Linked DNA regions of Homo sapiens: regions 2, 3 and 4 are each linked to region 1. The links are contacts of gene promoters, found by promoter capture Hi-C in blood cells and fetal thymus (Javierre and others, 2016). All regions are on one chromosome and are shown on one strand. The core of a region is centred on a gene start or on the middle of the fragment in contact, and the rest is flanking DNA. Distances in the headings are between cores, read along the strand shown. Region 1 holds the start of NMI (N-myc and STAT interactor). Region 2 has its middle 20 kb from the start of MMADHC-DT. Region 3 overlaps MMADHC-DT (MMADHC divergent transcript). Region 4 holds the start of FMNL2 (formin like 2).

What was found. Contacts are between HindIII fragments. The CHiCAGO score rates a contact against its expected background, and 5 or more counts as called.
Region 2: a fragment that was not itself captured here is called in contact with the fragment with the promoter of NMI in region 1 in 1 of 17 cell types (M2 macrophages); the score reaches 5.1 in M2 macrophages.
Region 3: a contact is called between a fragment that was not itself captured here and the fragment with the promoter of NMI in region 1, in 5 of 17 cell types (total CD4 T cells, total CD8 T cells, activated CD4 T cells and 2 more). The highest score is 14.2, in total CD4 T cells.
Region 4: the fragment with the promoter of FMNL2 here is called in contact with the fragment with the promoter of NMI in region 1 in 1 of 17 cell types (total B cells); the score reaches 7.5 in total B cells.

The regions. Positions count from the first base shown.
Region 1 is chr2:151,287,596-151,291,595 of GRCh38, forward strand. It overlaps NMI (N-myc and STAT interactor), which reads right to left and starts at 2,073. Exons shown (of 8, transcript NM_004688.3): 1 at 1,998-2,073. RefSeq lists enhancers at 622-791, 1,592-1,641, 1,662-1,711, 2,102-2,181, 2,242-2,661 and a silencer at 1,842-2,041. The HindIII fragment of the contact is 4,870 bases long and covers 204-4,000 here.
Region 2 is chr2:149,565,361-149,569,360 of GRCh38, forward strand. No RefSeq gene overlaps it. Among named protein-coding and RNA genes, the nearest start is that of MMADHC-DT, 20 kb to the right of the region's middle. The HindIII fragment of the contact is 3,218 bases long and covers 617-3,834 here.
Region 3 is chr2:149,600,323-149,604,322 of GRCh38, forward strand. All of the region lies in intron 1 of MMADHC-DT (MMADHC divergent transcript), which reads left to right. Among named protein-coding and RNA genes, the nearest start is that of MMADHC, 15 kb to the left of the region's middle. The HindIII fragment of the contact is 1,748 bases long and covers 1,097-2,844 here.
Region 4 is chr2:152,333,378-152,337,377 of GRCh38, forward strand. FMNL2 (formin like 2) reads left to right here and starts at 1,797. Exons shown (of 26, transcript NM_052905.4): 1 at 1,797-2,343. The coding sequence starts at 2,227. RefSeq lists silencers at 1,597-2,246, 2,757-2,856. The HindIII fragment of the contact is 3,556 bases long and covers 755-4,000 here.

The DNA of each region.
Region 1 (4,000 bases), core at 823-3,322:
AAGGTCCATTCCAAATTTTCCCCAAGCTCCCGAAGCCTTTTCTGATTCCCCCAAAGGATGTTACTCCCCCTCCTTTATCTCCTTTGCGGCGCTTTAATTACGTGTGTACCTATGTCATTTTCCGTGACACATCAGTAAACATGTTGAGGGCTGGGACCATGTCTACTCCTCCCTGCAGACATTCAGAGCACTTTCTCAGTATAAGCTTACACACTGAAAACACTCCATTTAGAGAATTATGTGGTATCTTGACTTAAGTATTTGTTGTACTCAGGACATCACATGTATATGAAGTCCTCTTATTACATTTCAGAAGACAGAAACTGCAATGTTATTTAATTGCTTTTTATTTTTATTATTGTGACAATGCCAATATTCCAAGAGCCTGTAATAAAGGCTCTCAGCATAAATGGTCTACTATCTAACACCACCAGAACCCTTTTGGCATCTTTTGCATCTGGATACTTTTGCTCTATGCATGAGTGGGATGTATGGTCATTCCTTTTATGCAATCATGTAGTAGGCAAAACAATGGCTCCCTCAAAGATGTCCACATCTTAATCCCAAGAATCTGTGATTATGTTAGTTTATATTGCAAAGGAGAATTAAGGCTGCAGATTGAATTAAGGTTGCTAATCAGCTTGCTTTTAAATATGGAGAGCATCCTGGATTATCTGTGGGAGCCCAGTGTAATCATGAGGCTACTTAAAAGTGAAAGCGGAAGACAGAAGAAGAGTCAAGAGTGAAATGTGACCCCGGAAGAACTTTCAGAGGCGCAATGTTGCTGGCCCTGAAGATGGAGGAAGGGCTGCTGAGCCAAATAAGGTAGGTGGCCTCCGGAAGATGGAAAGAGGATTCACCCCAAGAGCTTCCAGAAAGGAAGGCAACCCTGCCAACACTTTGATTTTAACCCAGTGAGACCTCAGTAGGACTGCTACAGAATCCTAAGATAGTAAATTGTGTATGTGAGTGTGTGTGTGTGTGTGTGTGTGCGCGCGCGCGCGCGTTCCTATGTGTTTAAGCCACTAAAGCCATGTAATTTGTTATGGCAGCGAATTAAAAAAACTGATACAAATCAACATCACCGTATTTCCGTAATACAATCATATAACTGCGGTGCCAGGCCGTGTAGAATCGAATCTTCCTATATGCATGCGTGGCAGCAAAAAGAAAGGCAATAGAACGTCTGCCTGTTGTACAGACTGGAAACACAGTATTCTCCTTCGGATGTCTCCTTCAAGAAAAACCTTGCCTATTCTGACACGCCAGCCATGACTGCACAACACTGCCCCTACCAAGAATCGTTTTCTTAAGAAATCCGTTTTCCTAAGGACTATCTCCAGAGACACTCGGAGAAAACAGCGAGGGCCGGGCGCGGTGGCTCACGCCTGTAATCCCAGCACTTTGGGAGGCCGAGGCGTGCGGATCACGAGGTCAGGAGATCGTATCCATCCTGGTTAACACGGTGAAACCCCGTCTCTACTAAAAATACAAAAAAAAAAATTAGCCAGGCGTGGTGGCGGGCGCCTGTAGTCCCAGCTACTCTACTCGGGAGGCTGAGGCTGGAGAATGGCGTGAACCCGGGAGGCGGAGCTTGCAGTGAGCCGAGATCGCGCCACTGCACTCCAGCCTGAGCGACAGAGCGAGACTCCGTCTCAAAAAAAAAAAAAAAAAAAAAAAAGAGAGAAAACAGCGAGGAAACACAAATAACTTTATGTTTCAATTTCCTCAATGAAGCAAAGCAAACAAGTGACAAGGCTCGAAGCCCTGACGGCCCAGAGACTGCACAGCGGGCCCAGGAGCAGGTGCGCCCCCTCGAAGGCGGCGTGGCCTCCGCGACTCGGCTGCGGGCAGCTCCCGGGGAGCAGGGTCTCAACTCCGGCGCTGTCCCACTTCCGTCGGCGCTGAGGGCTCCCACCTCCCTTTCCACCCCCGGCTCTCCAGCCCGGGACTGCCAGCGGCGGGAGTGGCAGCCGGGGAAGGGACTCCCCACTCACCCGCGTCCGCCCGCCGAGCGCAGCTCCCCAAGGCCCAGCGCGCCTGCCCTTCCCGGAAAACAGCAGCGCCTGAAACGCCGGAACCCCGGGAGGCACTGGGAGGGGAAGGCCCGGGTTCTCGAAACTGTCGCTGCCTCCTGCAGAAGCGCCGCGGGAGAGCTGCGGGGTCTTCCTGAGGAGGTGGCCCTCGCAGGAACAGCTGGGTTCCCCGCGAAAAGAAAAAGACAGTGAAAAAGAAAACTGCTTTAACGGCGATTTTTCTTTAGCATTTAACCAATGCTCAAATACTAAACATGGTTGTCTCCAATGATTAGTCACTAACAGAAAAAAAAACTAATTTCACTTTCGATTTTTAAAAAGGGGTGGTTTTGCGGAGGAAAGCAGAAGTATACCTGAAGTTTCCGTACACACTAATTTTAGGGAACGCTTTCTAAAACCAGTTTTTTGCATGTATTTTATAAGGTATGTTGGAAAAGTGGATAGAAACCAAATAAAGTCAAAGCAGGAATCGCTCTTCATCAGATTGTAACTCTTTTGTAATTTCTTAGTCATTGTAACACTAGTTGACAAATGTTTACAGTCAGCACAAGATCGGCGTTTCTGTGTCTTTTGTAACATCCCCCGGGGCCATGAAGTTGGGAAAGCTGTGGTGTTCCTGTTGGTTTCTGTGACCCATGTCCCTTGAAAGTTTTCTTATAATCTCTTGTTTTGTTGTGGAGCTTGTAAATAAATACTTCACTAGGTGTGAACTTTTCCTTTGAAAATTCAAACATCTGGTTTATTTCAAGAACTGCAGTGTCTCTTAATCCCACACAAAGAACCACCCCACAGCTGCCCCGGCTCATAAATACAGATGTGGGAAGAAAATGAGTCAAAATTATTTCAAGGCATAAATTATAGGTTATCATGCTACCTAGTCACATATAATAACTGATACAGTGGTCTAAAATAGTTTAACAAAAGTAAAATTTCTTTGTATCAAAAAGGTTGATGGGAACCAGTTTAAAGTGGTGACATTTCTCTTTTTTTTTTTTTTTTTTGAGATGAGTCTTGCTCTGTTGCCCAGTCTCCAACTCCTGAGCTCAAGCAGTCCTTCCACCTCCACTCCCAAGTAGCTGGGATTACAGGAATTCACGACCGCACCCAGATTTTTTGTACTTTTAATTTGGGTGCTGGGGGCAGGTATCTAACTGTTTCCCAGGCTGATCTTGAGCTCTGGCCCAAGTGATCCCACCACCTCAGCCTCCTGTAAAATGGCATTTCTAAGTAAAAAAAACGACTTCTTTGTGCTTATCAGACCAGTTAGAAAATACAAAAACTCCTTCTGCTGCAACTTGAGAAAGAATTACTTTAGTTTTACCTTGAAATTTTAGAGGGAATATGAACTCTCGAGGTTATTTAGTTGAACCTCATTTCTTCTTATTTTTATTTTTTACAAGAAGATACTAAAGGACAGGACCATGGCCAGAACAGGACTAACTTAATATATTGACTCAGATTCTGTTTAAAAGGCAAATGATACAGGTGGAGGGGAAGTCTTTTTGGACACCTACATTCTAAAGCTGAGACATGTACTAACAGTCTGAATTTAACTCAGCTTCAAATCTGGTATTCTGCAAAGTGTTAGAGATCTGAAGATGAAGAGTTGGCTCCTGGACATACTATTAATAATTGTAATTGCTAACATCTACTAAGAACTCCTGGACATTTTATAAACCTTTTTGTTTTGCCAACAACAATATTAGATATAGGTATTATTCCCATTTCTTTTCACCTGTCTGAAGCAGGCAGGAAGGTATTATCCCCATTTTGCAGTTGAGGAAACTAAGGCATAAAGAGGTGACCCAAAATCAAGCAGTTAATATATGGTGACAATGATATCATACTCTACTCTCAACAATATCTCCAAACTGTGTCCTAGGGTACATGGAGAACATGGAATTTTATGGCCCAATACAATTAGGAAATGCTGCATTCTGAATCCACTTTTGGAAATTCACAAT
Region 2 (4,000 bases), core at 976-3,475, 1.7 Mb before region 1:
CCGACCATTTGAGTATCTTTCTTTGTAAATGTTTATTTTTCTGGTGGTTATTTGTTTACTGATTTTAGGAGTCTTTATATATTTTGAATACAAGCTGTTTATTGGATATGTATATTGCCAGATTGTTGAGTATGTATTTATCTTTAACTCTGCTAGCTGCCTTCTCCTTCATGATGTCTTTTGATGAATTAAGAGTTCTTAGTTGTTTTTTGTTTTTGTTTTTTGAGACAGTTTCGCTATCATTGCCCAGGCTGGAGTGCAATGGCATGATCTCAGCTCACCGCAACCTCCGCCTCCCAGGTTCAAGCGATTCTCCTGTCTCCTGGGTAGCTGGGATTACAGCACCACCACGCCCGGCTAATTTTTTCTATTTTTAGTAGAGACGGGGTTTCTCCATGTTGGTCAGGCTGGTCTTGAATTCCCAACCTCAGGTGATCCGCCAGCCTCGGCCTCCCAAAGTGCTGGCATTACAGGTGTGAGCCATGGCGCCTGGCCAAGGGTTCTTACTTTTAACATGATCCAATTAATCATTTTTCCCTTTATATGATTATGTTGTATTCTCTTAAAAACAAATCTTTGTCTACTCCAAAGCACAAAGATTTTTTTTCCCCCTAGAAGCTTTAACCTTTCAAATTTAGACTTGGAATCAATTTAGAATTTTGATGTATGTGTCATGTAAAAGTAAAAATACATTTTTCTATATGAATATCCAATTGACCCAGCAATATATACTGAAAAGATCCTTCTTTTCTCACTGCACTGCAGTGTCACCTCTGTGATCAATCAAGTGACCACTTATGTGCTTTTTATAGTAGTGACATGGTTTTAACTGATTATAATTTCCAGTAATGAATGGAAGACAAATGCTCAAAGTCTCAAAAAACAAAAAATGCTCAAAGCCTTAAGTCTACATAATTAAGTTACAGTTTACATGTATTCTAAGAGGGCAATGAAAACCCTATGAAAAACTTTAAAATATCCTGGTTAGGAATGAGAGGATAACAGGAAAGTTATTACTGCATATTCAATGGTGTGTTTAAGTTAGTAGGAAATTGGGTCCTTACTTTCCAAGTATGGGAGGCAAGATTTAAGACAAAAAAATATAAAGGAACTGTGTACAAAATCGTGTGGTGGAGACCAAGTACTATATAAATTAAGGAAAAGACCAGTGAGGGATGAAGAGCCAGGAAAGGTTTCATAGAGGAAGTGTGACTCAAATCCTTGAATTGATTTAGGCCTGATTAGGTCTCTCTTAATGCAAAATATTAGAGCCTTCATTCTTTTCTATAGCTCCTTAATACATTAAATAGATTAGCAAATCTTACTCTTATTTCCTTAGATGCCTCTAATCCACCAACTATTACTGAGTTTTAGGACCGACCAGAGGTTCTAACCCTGAATGCACACTGAAACACCTGGGAAACCCTTAAAAAGTACTTAGGTCCAAACCTCATCAGACTAATGATATCAATATGTGGGTGTGAGGCCAACTCATCAGTACTAAATGCCCTCAGGGGATCTAAATGTACAGTTAAAGTTGAGGACTTTGAATCAGTGGTTCTCAACCCCAGTGATAAAGTTGTCAGATAAAATTCAGAACACCTGGTTAAATTTGACTTCTGATAAGTATTTTGTCCCATAGGAGAAATATAGCAATAACGGAAGACATTTTTGTCATAACCATGGCTTGCTGTTGGTATCTAATAAGCAGAAACTAGGGAATGCTGCTAAACTTCCTACAATGTCTAGGAGAGCCCACACAACAAAGACTGGTTCAAGACGTCAATAGTGCAGAAGTGGATAAACCCTCCTTGTGACAACAGTCACAAGGAGAATATAGAGTTGGAACTAAAAAGAGAGTTTTGTTCAAATGTAAGGACTAGGTTGATATTACAAGTAACAGAAGCCCAAGAAAGACATGAAGGTTTTAAACTTGAAGCTAGAGAACTATTGTTTGAAGTCTAGCATTCTATAATTGAATTTTTAGATACATGTTTCAGTAAATTTTCAAAGAAACTAAAAGCACATAGCGTTCAATGTAATGAATTCCTAAGTTTATGAAGTGGCAGCATTATCAGTTAACCCAAAAGTTCTTTCACTTTAAATTCTGCAACTCTTTGATATTTTTAATCAGACACTTAATAGACTTCTTGATTATGACCATGAAGTGAATATAGAAAAGAAATATATATAACTAATGGACTCTTGGCCAAGTCCCAGTGCTGGGTCTTAACACTAGCTGTGTGACCTGATGCAAATGCTCCTGTTTCCCATTTTGTCTACCATAAAATGAGGAATGTGGATGACATGATCTGAAAGATCTCTTTCAGCATTTAATTTCTATGTGCTTGATAAATTTTCATCTATGTAACCAGCATCCAAGAACAAAAATTCCTAAGTTCTTGTGAAAACATAACTTTAACAAATAAACTTTTATTCAGTGACAGATCTAATAGTAATTTCAATGGCTCAGTCTTATTTTTTTAAAAGGTAGCAAATTTATGTTTAAGATATATAATTTTACAAATCCTTTCTTGTCCACAAGGTCCTGATCAAGTGAACAGTTACCTGAGGTGTTTTTTTCTGTGGTACATAATAGTCAACCACTTTATATTATTATCATTCAGTAAGAGTTCCTTGAGTTATATTTCTAAAACCTGAATCTTGCCATAATACTTCAGAAAAAAAAGTTTTTAATTAACAGTTACTGCTGATCATATTTGTTTCTGGAAATCCTGTTAAAAAGCAAGTTGATAAAGAGTCTCGTCACCATGTACCCTATCTCAGTACAACAGAATGCACAGACTTAGTCACCTATAGGGAATAAGTATCATTTTCGATCAGTAAGTGACACTTCCTAATTGTTAAAGCAAATGTTGAAATTTCAAGGGAACTTGCCTTAAAGAATGGTGCAAGGTAGGAAATGGCTGAATAAGCAAAATACACATTAGAAATAATGAGAGTGGTGCAAGGTACTTGACCAAATTCTGTATTGTGTAACGCTGTCCTCTGTACTGTGGGACGTTCAGCACTAACCCTGTCCTCTACCTACTAAGTTCTGTAGCACAACTCCCCCATGTCCCTCCAAATTATGAAAATAAAAAATGTCTCCAGACATTGCTAAATTTCCCTTGAGGGGCAAAGCTGCCCCAATTCAGAAGCAATGAGAAGGCAAAAACTAGGCAAACAAATTTGATACCATATACGATAACAGGAATTAATTTCACAATGTTGAGTAAAAGCAGCCAGACACTGAAGCGAACACATTATACAGTTTCATATATATATGTAAAATGTGTGTGTGTATATATACATGTGTATGTGTGTCTACGTATATATAAAGCGTCAAAACAGGCAAAACCAACCTATACTGTACAAGGAAACCTGGACAGTGGTTACTCACGGAAAGGGCAAGGGCTGGGGAGCATGTAGTACCTAGAAGGGAGCAGGATGAGTGTGTTTGAGTATTCTGTGTTTTGATCTGGGTGCTGGTTACACACATAAAAATTTATTGAGCACATATGATGTGCATATATATATATATATATACACTTCAATAAATGTTCTTCTAAATGCTGTGGCAATCACTACACTTCATCATTTCAAAATAAATGAAAACTTTCTAGTTCTAGATCGTAAGCAACACCTCTTATCAAATGACATGTTAACTAAGCTAGGGGTTTTAAAACAAGGTGTGATTAAAAAGTTATCTCCATGTAGTCCTTTTCAAAACAGGCATTTCATGCAAAGAAGAAAAAACAGAAAAAAATCTATTTCAATTCATTTTGTGGAAGTTACATTTACTCCTTAGATCTGCCTATTCCTATTTGCAAAAGCTTCAAAAATGAAAGATGAAGTTTATGATGCTGTAAAAACAAGCTCTGTCTCAAATGAGGCACCTCTGTAAAGTACTGCAGTTTCCACCTATTGCTAAAATTGAAAAATAAATTTGTCAGTTAAGGCATAGTTCTATTTGTCTGTCTCAACTCAGGAGTTAAGA
Region 3 (4,000 bases), core at 721-3,220, 1.7 Mb before region 1:
CAGTATTCACAATAGCAAAGACATGGAATCAACCTAAATGCCCGTCAATGGTAGACTAGATAAAGAAAATGTGGTACATATACACCATCGAATACTATGCAGCCATAAAAAAGTACAAGATCATGTCCTTTGTAGCAGCATGAATGAAGCTGTAGGCTGTTGCCCGAACAGAAAACCAAATACTGCATGTTCTCACTTATAAGTAGGAGTTAAACATTGGGTATGGACGCAGATAAGGGAACAACAGACACCAGGGTCTATTTGAGGGTGGAGGATGGGAGGAGAGTGAAGATCCAAAAACTGCCTATCAGGTATTATGCTTATTACCTGGATGATGAAATAATCTGTACACCAAACCCTGTGACATGCAATTTACCTGTGTAACAAACCTGCACGTGTACCCCAAAACTAAAATTTTTTTAAAAAGTCACATATTGAGGTAAAAAAAAATACAAATAATTTTCATTAGAAAAAACTTATCCCAATCTACCTTATACCTCTTCACATGCAGTATAAGAACCTCACAACAGGGTGCTTCCATCTCTTTATCCTGATGGCTGCTGTTCTCATGTATTTTACTTCCATGTTTGCTGTGAATCCCATACTACACTGCTCTCATTTTTGCTTTAAACAGTCGATTCTATTTTGATGATATTTTGTAAAATGAGAAAATTGTTTTTTTACATTCCTCTACAAACTTACCATTTCTGGCTTTCTTTAATCCTTTGTGTAGATTTAATTTTCCACCTGGTGTTATTTTAGCTCTGCCTAAAGAACTTCCTTTAGCGTTGTTGGAGTGGAATTCTTTTGGTGATGAATTCTCTTCATTTTGTTCTTCCAGAAATGTACATTCATTCTTCACATTGGAAATATATTTTTCTTGATAAAGAAATGTAGGTAGACAATATTTCCCCCTCTCAATACATCTGGCTTGCATAGTTTATGATGGAAGTCTGCTGTCATTCTTCTCTTTATTGCTTTGTTTGCAGTGTGTCACAATGTGTCTTATTTTTATGGCTGATCTTAAGATTTTCTTTTTATCATTAGTTTTTGGCCATTTAATTATATAGTGCTTTGGAATCTAATACCATTCTCAAGCTTTTACTTGATACCTTATATATTTCGTTTTTGGTTTTTAAAATTTTGTTGTTGTTGTTGTTATTGTTTCATCTTGGCTGGTGGGAACATGAACAATTCCTAGCGCTCTGTGAGCTGCAAGAATATTTCTGAGTACTCCTTTCTTGTGTTTTTTTCCCAAGCATGAGTCATTTCCTCTCATGCATGCACAGATCAGTACTTAGGCAAAGCCTCCTCCAGACCCCACTGCAGATCTCCAGAGTTCCTTTTTTGTGCAGCTCCTTCATCTGTGCTACCATGCCCCACGAACTCCACCTTTTGTAATATCCCTGAATTCTAATCTCTCTTTCTTCAGCTTAAAAAGACTGCCTAACTCTGTGCTGTTGCCTGGAAACTGCCTACAGGAAGTAAGATGGTGCAGGTTAACATCTCATCATCTGGTTTCTTTCTCTCAGGGATCACAGTCTTATAATGCCTCTTTTCAAATGCCTCTAAACCAGTGTTTCCTATGTTTTGTCTGAGTTTTTCTAGTTGCTTACAGCATGTGATGGGGTTCCTTTTGACTCTATTTTGACTTGAAACGATAGTGTCCATGGAGATGGAGCCAGTTTCTTACTTCCTGACATCCTATTCCTAAAGACTAATAGAATACTCCAGAGTTTGTGATAAAAGAGAATATCCATTAAATTAATGATAAGATCAGTGCATATATGAATACTCCAGTAATTCCCAGGTAATGATAAATAAAACAGTCACAAAGAGCTGCAGAATTAGAAAGCTATTTGAACTTTGAATCAACTATGTTGAAGCAACATAATGAAATACAGAGTCTTCTAGATACTCTGTAAAGTCATAGAATTTTAGAAAGTATTGTTCTCATTATTTCTGATGCAGTAAAGTTCAAAGAGGTAATTACATTGCTTTCTGGCAGACAGTTGACCAGAAAGGCCAAAGTAGAAATCATAAGCCAACTGCCTTAATGGTTTGGGTAGTGGTATAGGTAAATGAAAAGGCAATTTTAATCTTCTGACTTCAAATTAAGAGATTATATATTTAACTTCCTAATAGATAAATACATTATTGCCTTTCAATTCATTTTTGTTTAAAAACAGCTTCTTTTAGAATTCTGCTTTGGTATATTGCTTTAGTGTGGGCACAAATTCCCAAAGATTCCATGAAGAATTTAGTATATAATCTCCCTTAGAAAAAGTACAGCATTTTTATGAGCAGAATAATAATATTCAGAAATGATATAAAGGTACACACAGGAATATGTGTGTAGCTTCAATATCTATAAGGGATTATAATTTTAACATTTTATTGATCTTTTAAGGTGTTTTGAGTTTTCAAATAAAATTGCTCTCTATTATTGTGCACTTAGAGATACTTTTCTAGGCAATAATATGTAAATTAATTGCCTTTTCAGGCTGCGCTATGGTTTCCCATTGTGGCATGGAATAATATATTGGGGAGATTTTTCTGTTTTATGGCAGTTTTAACTATCTTTTAAAAATGGTTAAAATTTCCAGTTGCAATAACGTAGCGTTAAATTATTTAAAAACTGTTATGAAGAAATATATCTCAGGATTAATAGAAAAAATTTCTTATATTGGCCAATTTCAAATTTAACCACAATTCTTAATACATTTCTCTTTGACATGAATTTATAAATAGCAATTATAATGAGTATGGTTCTCTAAATCAAATAACCTGTTAAAACCAAATGATCCAATTACAGGTTTATATTAAAAATGAATGAATAAGGAAAGCTTTTTAGCTCCTTAAGATGCTATCATTCCTTTTATAGAATGTCAAGATTTACAGAATATCAGGAAAGTAATCAATCTTCCTTTGATTAGGCTTGTATCTTCTCTTTCTTTCAAATTTCTGCAGACTTTTCATTTGCTGGGGGGAAAAATGGAAAGCTATGGGACAGTGAAAGATAACAGTTAAGAATTTCCAAAGGATTCAAGGATGTAGAAACAGAAATGACTCAAATGGTCATCACACTTCAAATTCCATCATAAAGGCTGAAACGCTGTAGTCCTATCCTGAACTGGTCCTAATGATTTAGTGCTCGATTCTAGGCTTGCACATAGGTAAACATGACGACATTATAGTATGTCAAATAATGCTCATGAATGAAAAGAACAGTGAGATTTTCAATGTTTTTTATACTGACTTGTTTCCCTCTATTTACTTTACTTGACCGCCCCCAAGAATAGTCAGATGACATAATTTGAGTCAATAGATACGTAACGGAGACAAACCAGATGGCCAATTCCTGTGGATTTATGGGACAATTCTGCATATTTTAAGCAAATAATTTGTTCTTTTCAATTATATTCAAAGCTTACATTCTGTTATACTGTATATTTTATTAGAGAATAGTTTTTCTGTGAAGATAATACCATTAGCTGAGTTGCAAAAAAAATTCTAAATTTTAATATATACTTTCAAACTATTTTTTTCATTCCAAAACTACTTCTGAGGAAACTCTTACATAAAATTAAGGTTAAATATTTTTATATTTCCTGACTTTCAATTTATTACCTATCTTCAAATCAACAATTAACTAATTGATTTACCATATGTTATAGACAATAGAAGTAAAGGGAAAGTGTGAGCATTTACAAAGTCAATTGAAAGAGACATTTAGCTGGAAAATATTTTGAGCATTGTGTTTTAACTTACTGCTCTGGAGGATGAGGATTTAACTCTTTTCAGCTTCTTTCTTCTATCATGTTTAGTCCACTTCAGAACCCACCCACCTCCCAAGATAGCTATATGACAATTTGATTAGACCAGTAATCAGGGTTTATGTTTCTATGACTATGTAATTGCTCATGAATGAGCTAGGTAGCATACCATGATCTTTTTTTCTCTTGACAATATTTTGTTCTCCTTAAAGTTAAGGAGGGCC
Region 4 (4,000 bases), core at 547-3,046, 1.0 Mb after region 1:
CGTAAGGGGAGAAAAAGGTCTTGGTTACTGGCAGAAATATAGCCGCAGGGAGACATAAATGTAATCAAAAAGGCTTTCTCAACTGCAGAAAAGAATTCCAGCCTTTTTTATCCAGATGGGCAACCCTCTGGGTGGGCTGATTTTGTGAGTCAATCAGATCCAAAGTATATGTCTAGAGATTACAAGGAAATAAATACATTTGTGGGTCAGAAATGTTTCACCTGGTCCGAACTGCTTTCTTTCTCTCTCATTTTCATTAGTTTGGAGTGTGTGTGTATCTAAACCGCCCTGCTTTTCTCTCAGATCAGTAACACATTTGCTATTAACTTTGATACAACACTGCTTTAGAAATACAGGTTACAGTTATTCAGAATTTTAAGTTGAATTTATTTATACTGTCTCCATTCTTTAAAGACTAGAAGTGGTTTAATAGAACATACATGATGTATTTGTGTGTATTTGTGTCATATGCTTTTGGAAAAAGTCACTTGTCAATTCCACAAATAGTTCTTGGGCGTCTACTATGTTTAAAGTATCTTGAAGTTTATAAAGATGAATGAAATGTCCTTGATTGAATCTTGGTGTACTACCTTGTCCAGAAACACTTGCTATTTACTAAAAGGATAACAACCTTACCTGCATATCAAAATCACCTGGGGAGCTTGTTGAAAATACACCGGCCCAGGCTTCGGCTCTCAGCTTAGGGAGATTCTGATAATACGCAGAGCCCAAGGTGTGTGTAGTTTTAACAAAAAGCTTCCCAAGCGAATCTGATACACATCTAGGATTAAGAAACACTGCTTTAAACTAAGAAAGGACTAACTGCAGAAGTTCAGCCACAAGTCAACCAGATGTATGCCCTTAACATTCACATGAGCAGTTGGCTAAAGTCTCTTATAAGGCTATTTCTATTTCCGAGGTTTCAGAACGGGTAGTTATAGTCTGAAATACACCCCAGAGGACAGAGTCAGGTCCAATCTTTTCTGTAAGACACCTTGCTCAAGACTGCTGTGAAGGAATAAGAGAGCTGCAGCCAAAGATCATCCCAAAGTCTCCCAGAACACTCTATCATTATATCCATCTCACATGAAATATGGGTGTGTACATTTTTTCCTTCACTAGATTGGCAAGTATTCCAGCGCAGGGCAAATCTCTTTTTTCTCCCACCAAGGAACACAATATCCCATACATAATAGGTGTTTGACAGGTTTTTTTTTTAAATTGAATTGAATCCTTACCTAGCTCCTAGGGTCTGACTATATATACCCATAAATTATACATCTGTTTATAAAACATTTCAATCACACCAAAGAACATATATATGGAAGAAAGAACGATAAACAAGCACCCATGGACCCACCCCCCCGTTTATGAAACAGAACTTTGCCAGTGCTTTCGAAGTTCCTTACTGAACTAGATCTTTTAAAAACAGCAACGATTTTCTGAATTTTAATCAGAAGGCATGCATTCCTTCATTCATTGATTCGATTCCGTCATGGTCAGACCCGCCTACCAAGTGTCAACATGATATACACGATGTAAGTATTCCACTGTTGGGGTGAGGAGGGTCAAAAGTGACAATATGCTATCTCCAGAGACTACGGATCGCCTTTGCTGCAAATGGTCCCAACCCGGCCTGGCGCTCTAGAGCAGGCGTGGTTTCTGCGCGCGGACACTTTGGAGAGAAACTACGCGTCCCGGCAGTCCGCGGGGCGAGTGGGCGGAGCCGGGCCGGGGGCGGGGGCCGGGCGCCGGGCGAGAGGTGGCATTGTGTAGGGGAGCGCGGAGCTGCATTTGTCTGCTCCAGGTGCTAGCCAGGCAGGCGCAGCCGTGGCCGGCTAGGGCTGGAAGTGTCAGCGGCGGCCGCGGGCCCGGCAGAAGGCCGAGTAGGAGGGACCACGCGCCGGGGGCCGCGATCTCTGGCAGGGGGCGGTGTGCCAGCGGAGCACCATGCACATAGGCGCCCAGCGCCCCAACTACCCCTCCCGAGGAAAAGAGGCCGGGGCCGCGCTGGGGCGGCGGAGAGCATGAGGGAGGCCGGGGGGCGGCTCGGCTTGGAGCGCTGCTAGGGAGCGGTGCGCGCCGCACACCCGCCTGGGCGCGGCGGAGGGCGGGGAGCCGGGCAGGTCGCGCCTGCGGGCGGCAGCCGACCGCCGGGAGCTGTTCTGATTTCCGACGCGCACGCTAGGGGCCCGGAGCAGCCCCCGGCCCCGGCGCGCCGCCGACATGGGCAACGCAGGGAGCATGGATTCGCAGCAGACCGATTTCAGGGCGCACAACGTGCCTTTGAAGCTGCCGATGCCAGAGCCAGGTGAACTGGAGGAGCGATTTGCCATCGTGCTGGTAAGTGCGCGGCGGCGGTCGGGCGCGGGGACCCGGGGCCCCGGGCCGGGCGGCGCAGCTGACCCCCGCCCCTCCCCTTCACCCCGTGCCGGGAGCGAGCCTCCATTCCCGAGGGGGAGGCTCCCGCTTTCCCCTTTGTGGCCCCCCAGCACTCCTCTTCACCCCCCTGGCAGTCCCCCGCGCTCAGTCTCTCGGGGTCCCGGGATGGGGATGGGGGCTCAGGGCCGGCTGCCCAACCAGCCTCGAACCCATTGTCTGGCTGGAGAGGCACCTCACGGCGCGTGTGCCCGGGAGGTGCGGCGTGGGCGTGAAGAGAAGGTGGCGCGGGCTGGGAGGAGGAGGTGGCGAGCCGCTTAGGCTTTTTTTTTAAAAAAAACAAAACAAAACAAAACAAAACAAAACACCCTGAGCCCCTGCGGACCATCCCTCGGGCGGCCAGCCCGGGACCTGCGAAGTCCCCGGCAGATGGGGCGCATGTGGCCGGCCGCGGGCGCCGCGCCGGGCGGTGAGCGGAGGCGAACTTGGAGGGCTCACGTCGCGGCTTGGCCAAGGGGAGCTTCCCCGAAAGGGAAAGCGGAGACCCACAGCAGTGCGGCGCCCCGGCCCTTGGCGAGGAGCAGGGGCATCTGAAACCCAGGCCGGGGAGAACCTCAGCGCGTTCCCTCTAGACTTAAATCTTAAACCACAAAAATGTGGAGTTTTGCGGGGACGTGTTGCGAGCTGTCCTGACTGCACGGGCGACCCCTCCCCTCCTCTTGCACGCCCAGCCAGGTCCCCCGCTCCCTCCTGCATTCCGCTTCTCCCAGCTTTCCAGCTCCTCAAATCCAGGACTCTGAAAACTCCCCTCTTTCTCCCTTTCCTGCTGGGACAGTGTCTGGGCCCCTCCCAGCCGAGGCTTGTGCTGTGAGCTGCAGAGGGTGTGGCGGCTTGCCCCAGCCAGGATCTGGACTGCTGTTGGTCCCCCAGACTACCAGTTTTAGTGTCCCAGCCTCTTCTAAGGGATGTTGGGAGGGACACACACAGGCGAGATTGGGCTCATTCCTACTCCTGACACTTGGACACTTCTCTTTTCCTAGTTGGTTACCTCTAAACTCCACAAGACTAGGCAGCAAGGGAAACTCGTGATCCGGGCAGCCAACGATTGTGCCTGCCTGCGGGTTTTCTTTTCTTCTTTTGTTTTCATGAAAACTTAGAACTTTGGCAGAGGACTCGAGTTCTAGATCAAAAATCGGTTTTCTGAGGTGTGCTCAGCTACAGGACGTTCAAATTGCCTGCCTTCAGGCCTTGAAAAAGGAATGGTTTGGTATGGGAAGTGATGTTCTGGATGGCAGGTTAGCTGTGTGCTCTTTGGGAGAACTGAGCTCTCTCTCCCGCCACCTGGAAACTCTGGTGTGGCCGTCGGGGAGACAGATGAGGTTGCTTGTGTTGCTTTGCATCTCCTGTGATCTCCCACAGCTGCTCCCACCGTTGTGCAAGATGGGACACTGAAATGAAACGGCCTAGGCATAACTCTCAAGGCGGCCTGGGTGCATACTTGACCTGCTTTTCCAGAGACAAACGTTTTTCTTCAAAACCCTCTTCCTACTAGACATATGGTTCTTACCTCCTGGCTCTGGCTTTTTTTCCTCCTGGCTCTGGCTTTTTTGTTTTTCCATCC